2 separate regions of the Homo sapiens genome follow, and region 2 is linked to region 1. Evidence: promoter capture Hi-C in 16 types of primary human blood cells and fetal thymus (Javierre and others, 2016). All regions are on one chromosome and are shown on one strand. The core of a region is centred on a gene start or on the middle of the fragment in contact, and the rest is flanking DNA. Distances in the headings are between cores, read along the strand shown. Region 1 holds the start of THRAP3 (thyroid hormone receptor associated protein 3). Region 2 overlaps OSCP1 (organic solute carrier partner 1).

Region 1 (4,151 bases), core at 449-2,948:
GTATTTTGGTATCCATCTAGTTTACTACCGTGTTCCCAGTATTTTACACTGGGCATTGTATACAGTAGACACCCAGAAAATCTTTGAATTTAAAATTACATTGGTTCAGCCCCGTGGCTCACGCCTGTAATCCCAGCACTTTGGAAGGCCGAGGCAGGTGGATCACTTGAGGTCAGGAGTCTGATACCAGCTTGGCCAACGTGGCGAAACCCCGTCTCCACAAAAAGTAGAAAAATTAGCCGGGTGGTGGCATATGCCCGTAAAATCAGCTACTCAGGAGGCTTAGGCAGGAGAATCGCTTGAACCTGGGAGGCAGATGTTGCAGTGACCCAAAATCGCACCACTGCCCTCCAGCCTGGGCGACATAGGGAGAATCTCAATAAATAAATAAATAAATAAATAAAAATAAAATCAATTAAATTAGAACGTTTTAAGAAGCACTGCGCAGTACGTCGACCACAAGAAGTGCTCAAAGAAGGAAGAAAGAGTAAGCCGTGTGCAAGGAATGCTGCCGAAGCCACTAAGGGCAAGGGCTGATGTGGCGTGGTCTGCTACTTGAGTTGAGCCTTGCAGCTTTTCTCTTAGGAAGAGCATTAGATTTCTTTATTAATTGATGTGTACTGTGTCTACTTTTCTCTGGAGGTGCAGAAATCCATCAAAACTGATCTCGGCTCTCAAAGAGCTCACAGTCTTGTCGGGGAAGGCCCCGATACTTACAGAGTAAGATGCAAACTTACTGTGGGAACACAGGCATAGGGAGGAGCTAGTCAACTTTGAAAGCATCACAGATGACCTATGAGATGGGTCTTAAATGTTCAGAGACACTAGAGCAGAAATTCCGGAGGAAACCAGCCTGTGCAAAACTGATAAACGCAGAGATTCTCAAATTTGTAGGTGGGTAAGAATCACCCGAGAGATCGGTTTAAAATGTAGACTGCAGGGAGACACTCCCCGGTAAACTTTTGGTTCAATACCCCAGTAGCACCCATTTTAACAAACTTCCCAGGACGACAGTCAGAAAATCATAGTTACAGAAGGCAGGCTGGGGAGAGGCGGTTTCTGGGTCTCCGAATGAGGTCACACAATTAAAATTAAAAAAACGAAACCAAACCAACCCCTCCATTTGCGTTGCGCTTTCAGGGTGCTTGAGGCTTTCCTGTGCCTTACTTTGTCGGAGCCTGGCAACATCGCTGTGGGGTAGAAATTACAAGTCTCATTTCACAGGGGAGGAAACAAGTTTAGAGAGGAGGGATGAATTTGCTCAAGGTCACAAAGCGGAAGGGAGCGCAGCAGAGACCAAAAACAGGGAGACTCGACTTCCAACTCGGAAGCTTTTCAACAAGGCAAGCTGGCCCGGAGTGGGTGGGGCTCAGACTCTCCCTCCAGGCTGGTTCCAAAATGGTGGGGGCAGTGGCGTCAGCAACGCCCCCGCCCCTTCCGTCCACCGCCCTCCTCCATCTCCAGGCCACCCAGGCGGGGGGAGGGGACGGCCCCGAGCAACCCACGTGACCGCCGACAACCGAGCGCGTGACGCAAAGCGGCGGGCCCAACGCTCGCCTTGTCTTTTGGGAAACGTAGTTCTGATGGCAGCCAAGTCGGCCAGGAGAGGAGGGCGTAGGACTACATTTCCCAGGAGGCAGCGGGTCTACGCCGTCGCCGTCGTCGGAGAGCGGAGACGCTGGGCGCGCTGTGGGGCGGGGGCGAGGTTCGGGCTGGTTGTTCCGTTGCGAGCTGCAGCTGCGATCTCTGTGGTAGGCCCAGGTGAGTGAGCGCCTCTGATGGAAGTTAGGGCAGCTTAACCGGCTCTAGTGGTTTCGTCTCTTATCTTTTTTCCCCAGCTGCTGGTCAGGGGCTCGGGGAAGGCCTGGCGTGGAGTCGCTCCCCCCAGCTTACACCCTGGCCTCTTCTGAGCGGGCTCCGTTCCCTCCGGCTCCTCCCCTTCCCCGCCCTTTAGGTCTTCCCCTGGCCCCGGCCTAGCTCCCAAGGCTCTTGGTCGCCTTCTCTGCAGAGCAGCTCCTACGCCGCTTTATCTTGCAGTCGGCCTGGGGGCGGCCACTCCCTACTCCTCCCGTTTTGGTCGTATGAACCCCGTTATTTGGATTTCTTTTCCCGGAACTCCCGAGTGCCCTTCCCCCCACCCAGTCCCCATTGGCCTGGTTCGGTCTTCTCCTAGGGCGCATGTGGCTGCCACTCAGTAAATGTTAGTACCGCTTCCGTTCTTTCCAGCCTGGTGGCCAAAAACGGGATAGTCCAAATTTGTCTCCTACGGGAATATTAGAGTTCTCACTTTTTTCTTGGGCTGGAGCTGAGGCCGGCTTGCATTCCAGTGGCAATCGGCGTGAGTTCTGCTTATATGAGGTGAATTATTTTGCTTCTCTTAGCACCTAAGCAACTTTTATCAACTGTTGTCTTTGACTTTACAAATCTTAGGGGTGGAGCATGGCAGCAGAAGCTGGGGAGCAGCAATGGTGCACAGAAGTTGGAAGCCATCAGTGGCAGTACAGTGTTTATGGGGAATTTGTTACTTGGGGTGAAGGGAAAGCCTCTGAGAGTATAGAAGGACCTGGCAAGAGAGAGGCAGTGAAGCTTCTGTTGGGAGCATAACAGAAGTATCCTGAACCAGTTGGCTTGGGTTTAAATCTTGGCCCTGCTATCTTTTGATCTTAGGTCAAGAGTCTTCATCTCCAGCTGCCTCAGTTTTCTTATCACTAAAACAGCAGTAAGTAACAGTGACCCCTTTACAGGGTTATTGTGGAGACTAAATGAGATAAAATAAAAATCACTTAGCCACTGTTAAAAAGTAATATCATCATTTATAGGTTTTTTTTTTAGAGTGTGCGCCGAGAGAGATGAGGCGTGTATCACACCGTTATTTTTCTTCTGTTTCAGATGACCCTGACTTTTTTCGTTTGTGGAAGTACTGTTGTAGTCTGTTCTGTAATTCTAGACAGTCTGACGTGTGTATTATGATTTAGAAGCTTGTTAAATAGCCAAAACCGGCTCCTGCCATGAACAACTTGTGGAGCAAATCGGGCTCAGTTTGTTCTTTGCCGGGAGATGTATTTTGTGAGCCAATGTTCATACGTTAATGATAAGTTTTACTGCAGCCATTTGGGCTTAATTGCATTTTGTAAGAGAGTTGTGTTGAGGTTTCTGTAAGAAGTGATTTGATTAAAAACCTCTATATCCAGTGTAATTCCATCTCTTTGTTTTTTAAACGTTTTAACACCAGAGAAAGATCTCCAATTTTGGAGACTGATGTTTTTAGTTTTGTAGACTAGGTACAGTTCAATTTTAGCAGTGGTGATGGTAGTAGTAGTACCACCTTAGTGTATTTATTTAATACCAAATATATAGGTACTTTTAAATTTGGTTTAGCCTGCAAAATATGGATTACAAAAAGAGTGATCTATTTTGTTCCGAGGAATTGGAGGGAGGAAGCTTGGAATATTTCTGAGATTAGCACAGAGATGGGAAATGTTGATGACTGGGAGGGTACACAGACATACGATTTATTATTATTATTATTTTTTGAGACAAAGTCTCGCGCTGTCACCCAGGCTGGAGTGCAGGGGCACAATCTCGGCTCACTGCAACCTCCGCCTCCTGGGTTCAAGCGATTCTCCTGCTTCTGCCTCCTGAGTAGCTGGGATTACAGGTGTGTGTCACCACGCCTGGCTCATTTTTGTATTTGTAGTAGAGACGGGGTTTCACCATGTTGGCCAGGCTAGTCTTGAACTCCTGACTTCAGGGGATCACCTGCCTCGGCCTCCCAAAGTGCTGGGATTACAGGCGTAAGCCACCGCGCCCGGCCACGATTTATTATTTTTAGAATGGATAGTCCTAACCACTAAGCATTTTAGGGCGCTACCCTGTTTCTGTAGGGCATATTGACATCCTGAATGCAAGGAAGTCTGGTTAATGCTATTCTCTCAAATACAGGGTTTTGGTGGATTTTTTCACACATATTCTATAAACATCTAAGATCTGTTCACTGTTTGACTCTGGTTGATTGGGTAATTTATTCAACAAATACTACTTGAGAGCCTGTCATTTACCAGCTTCTGTTGTGGGCCTGTGAATATATTAGGGTGTGATGACAGATGAGGTCTTGTCTTTTGGAAACTTAACAGGATTGTTGGGGGCGGGGA
Region 2 (4,151 bases), core at 525-3,024, 200 kb after region 1:
GGGGAGGCAGGCGTGACTGTGGGTCTGGAGCTGAGCCTGGAGGAAGAAGGTAGGTGTAGAGACACTTCAGAGATGGAGATGAGCAGGTGTGAGTCACGTTTTCAGGGGAACATGTAAACTGGTTTGGTCAGAGGGTTTGCTGGATGACGTTTAAGACATTTTTAACCTCAAGATTCTGTGACCAAGGGATGTGAGTACAAGAAAGGAGAAAGAAAATTTAGAGGGAGAATTGGGAATATTTATATGTGCTAGAAACTCTGTTAGTTTAATCTTATGAGGTTGACTATGGCATGGTAGATCTGAAATGTACAAATTTAGGTCATGTGTGTGTCTGTGTTTGGCCTGAGACTCTGCCAGTGGCTGGAGAGGACTGTTAGGTCTGTTTGCTTGCTCAGCCCCTCTGCTGGCCTTTTCTTCTCCCTCCACCCTTTCCTTTCCGAGGTGATCTCGTCTCCTCCCATACTCCAGGGCTCACCTCTGAGCTCATGGCTCCCAGATCTCAAGGTCCCACTCCAGCTCCTTCCCTGGCACTGACCCATCCATCCCATTGCCTGTCACACATTTCCATCTATGGGTCCCCTAGGATGTACCTCAAATTCCCCCTGCTCAGAACAGGGCCCATCTTTGTCTCTTCCTCAACCCTTCAGTTGCCAAGCCTTTCCTCTCCACCCCAACTATTGCTCCCTATGCAGGCCTTCACTGTTTTCTGCCTGCCCCACTGCAGAAGCCTCCTGTCTGGTCTCCCTGCCTTCCTTCTCGCCTGCTGTATTTTTTTATTTTAATTTTTTAAGGCAGCATCTTGCTCTGTAGCCCAGGCTGTAGTGCAGTGGTGCGATCTCGGCTCACTGCAACCTCTGCCTCCCGGGTTCAAGTGATTCTCCTACCTCAGCCTCCTGAATAGCCGGGACTACAGGCATGTGCCACCACACCCAGCTAATTTTTGTATTCTTAGTAGGGACGGGGTTTCACCATGTTGGCCAGGCTGGTCTCGAACTCCTGACCTCAAGTGATCTGCCTGCCTCAGCCTCCCAAAGTGCTGGGATTACAGGTGTGTGCCATGGTGCCTGGCCTCTTTTTTTTTTTGAGATGGAGTCTTGCTCTGTCGCCCAGGCTAGAGTACAGTGGCATGATCTCGGCTTACTGCAACCTCTGCTTCCTGGGTTCAAGCGATTCTCCTGCCTCAGCCTCCCGAGTAGCTGGGATTACAGGCGCCCGCCACCATGCCTGGCTAATTTTTGTATTTTTTAGTAGAGATGGGGTTTCACCATCTTGGCCAGGCTGGTCTCGAACTCCTGACCTCATGATCCACCTGCCTTGGCCTCCCAAAGTGTTGGGATTACAGGCGTGAGCCATGGCGCCTGGCCTTTTTTTTTTTTTTTGACACAGAGTCTTGCTCTGTTGCATAGACTGGAGTACAGTGAACATGATCATAGCTTACTGCAGCCTTGAAATCCTAGGCTCAAGGAATCCTCCGGCCTTGGCCTCCCAAAGTGCTTGGATTACAGGTATGAGCCATCACTCCCAGTCAGAATATTATCACGCCCAGCTAATTTTTGTATTTTTAGTAGAGACGGGGTTTCACCATGTTGGCCAGGATGGTCTCGATCTCTTGACCTTGTGATCTGCCCGCCTTGGCCTCCCAAAGTGCTGGGATTACAGGCGTGAGCCACTGCACCCAGCTGAAAGCCTTTTCATTATAATGAATTTTATCTTGTCGGAACTGGGAAATCAATATGGCTGTTTATGTTACTACCAATCCATAAAATAATACCCAAATATGCAGCCCTGATAACAATATGATACAGAATTTTTAATATTTCAAAATTGTTATTTTAAATTTAATGAAAAACTTAATCTTATTTGTACTTTCATATTTTTTATTTTAATCAATGACAGAGATCTTAATTTATATTGATGTTATTATTGCTTCATCCATAGCAAATACAATTCTTCATGAGAGTTAAAAATAAGGCCGGGCGCTGTGGCTCGCGCCTATAATTCCAGCACTTTGGGAGGCCGAGGCGGGTGGATTGCCTGAGGTCAGGAGTTCAAGACCAGTCTGGCCAACGTGGTTAAACCCCGTCTCTACTAAAAATACAAAAAAATTAGCTGGATGTGGCGGTGTGCACCTGTAATCCCAGCTACTCGGGAGGCTGAGGCAGGGGAATTGCTTGAACCAGGGAGGTGGAGGTTGCAGTGAGCTGAGATGGTGCCACTGCACTCCAGCCTGGGCGACAGAGCCAGACTGCATCTCAAAAAAAAAAAAAAAAAAAAAGAAAGAAAAATTTGGCATCAGAATTGAAATCTATTTATCTTCCTTTGTCCATGGAAGGGAAATACAATAAGGCACTAAATACATTGCATTTCTTCCCCTTTTTAAAATTTTATTTTGCCCAGGTACAAAACTCAAAGTTCTCAAAAGGGTATACATAATGGAAAGTCAGTCTCCTTCTCCTGTCCTCCATATAGTTCCCCACTCCTGGAAGGCAACACTGTGCACTGTGAACAGTTTCTTGCATATGCTTCCAGAAGCACTCTCTCTGTATATGCACAAACAAATACATATATGTTACATATGCTGTTTCAGTTAATCCAACAAAATTAGGTATTATAATTTTCATTTTTCAGATGAAGAAACTAAGACTTAAGAGAAGTTATTTTGCCCAAGGTCATGGAGCTAGTCCTATAGTTGGGATTCATTTTCTTAATTAAAAATTGTTTTATTTTGGCTGGGCATGGTGGCTCATGCCTGTAATCCCAGCACTTTGGGAGGCTGAGGCGGGCGGATCGCCTGAGGTCAAGAATTTGAGACCAGCCTGGCTAACATGGTGAAACCCCATCTCTACTAAAAATACAAAAATTAGCCAGGCGTGTTGGCAGGCGCCTGTAATCTCAGCTGTTTGGGAGGCTGAGGCAGGAGAATTGCTTGAACCCGGGAGGTGGAGGTTGCAGTAAGCCGAGATTGTGCCACTGCATTCCAGACAGAGTGAGACTCTGTCTCAAAAACAAAACATTTTATTTTAAGGACAGAGTCTCACTATGTTGCCCAGGATGGTCTTGAACTCCTGGGCTGAAGTGATCCTCCTGCCTCAATATCCCAAGTAGTTCAGACTACAGGCACTCGCCACTGTGGCCAGCTCTGGAGTTGAGATTCAAAGAGAAAGGTGAAGCTGGGCACAGTGGCTCACACTTGTAATCCCAGCACTTTGAGAGGCCAAGGCAGGCAGATTGCTTGAGCTCAGGAGTTCAAGACCAACCTGGGCAACAAAGCAAGATTCTGTCTCTACAAAAAATACAAAAAATTAGCCAGGCGTGGTGGCATGCTCCTGTAGTCCCAGTTACTCGAGAGGCTGAGGTGGAAGGTCACTTGAGCCCAGGAGATTGAGGCTGCAGTGAGCCATGATTGTGCCACCATACTCCAGTCTGGGCAACAAAATGAGAACCTGTCTCAAAAAAAAAAAAAAAGAGAAACATGTCTGGCTCCAGAGCCTGGGCTTGTTTTACCATATCATACCATCTTTCCCACATCAGTTGGTTAAATTGTGGCAGGAAACAAAGCCCTGTCCAAGAGAGACACATTCAAAATTCAGAAGCTTAGAATTTTTTTTTTTTTTTTTTTTTTTTTGAGACATGGTCTCGCTCTGACACCTGGTCTGAATCATGGATCCACCATGGCTCACTGCAGCCATCCTCCCATTTCAGCCTCCTAACTGGGACTATAGGCATGCGCCACCATGCCTGGCTAATTTTTGTTTTTGTAGAGATGGGGTTTTACCATGTTGCCGAGGCTTCAGAAATGTGTTTTTATTTTATTTTTATTTATTTATTTATTTTTTTGAGACAGGGTCTCAGCCCAGGCTGGAGCACAGTAGCATGATTTTTTTTTTTTTTTTGAGATGGAGTCTTGCTCTGTCGCCCAGGCTAGAGTGCAGTGGCACTAACTCAGCTCACTGCAACCTCTGCCTCTCAGGTTCACGCGATTCTCCTGCCTTAGTCTCCCGAGTAGCTGGGATTAAAGGCGCCTGGCTAATTTTTGTATTTTTAGTAGAGACGGGGTTTCACCATGTTGGCCAGGCTGGTCTCAAACTCCTGACCACGTGATCCACCCGCCTCGGCCTCCCAAAGTGCTGGGATTACAGGCGTGAGCCACT

What was found. Contacts are between HindIII fragments. The CHiCAGO score rates a contact against its expected background, and 5 or more counts as called.
Region 2: a contact is called between a fragment that was not itself captured here and the fragment with the promoter of THRAP3 in region 1, in 1 of 17 cell types (neutrophils). The highest score is 5.7, in neutrophils.

Annotation. Positions count from the first base shown.
Region 1 is chr1:36,222,745-36,226,895 of GRCh38, forward strand. THRAP3 (thyroid hormone receptor associated protein 3) reads left to right here and starts at 1,699. Exons shown (of 12, transcript NM_005119.4): 1 at 1,699-1,761. RefSeq lists enhancers at 496-665, 876-1,175, 1,089-1,616, 1,576-1,785, 1,617-2,145 and a silencer at 1,326-1,445. The HindIII fragment of the contact is 1,255 bases long and covers 1,330-2,584 here.
Region 2 is chr1:36,425,936-36,430,086 of GRCh38, forward strand. The region is part of intron 4 of OSCP1 (organic solute carrier partner 1); the gene reads right to left. Among named protein-coding and RNA genes, the nearest start is that of SNORA63C, 9.4 kb to the left of the region's middle. The HindIII fragment of the contact is 3,633 bases long and covers 1-3,591 here.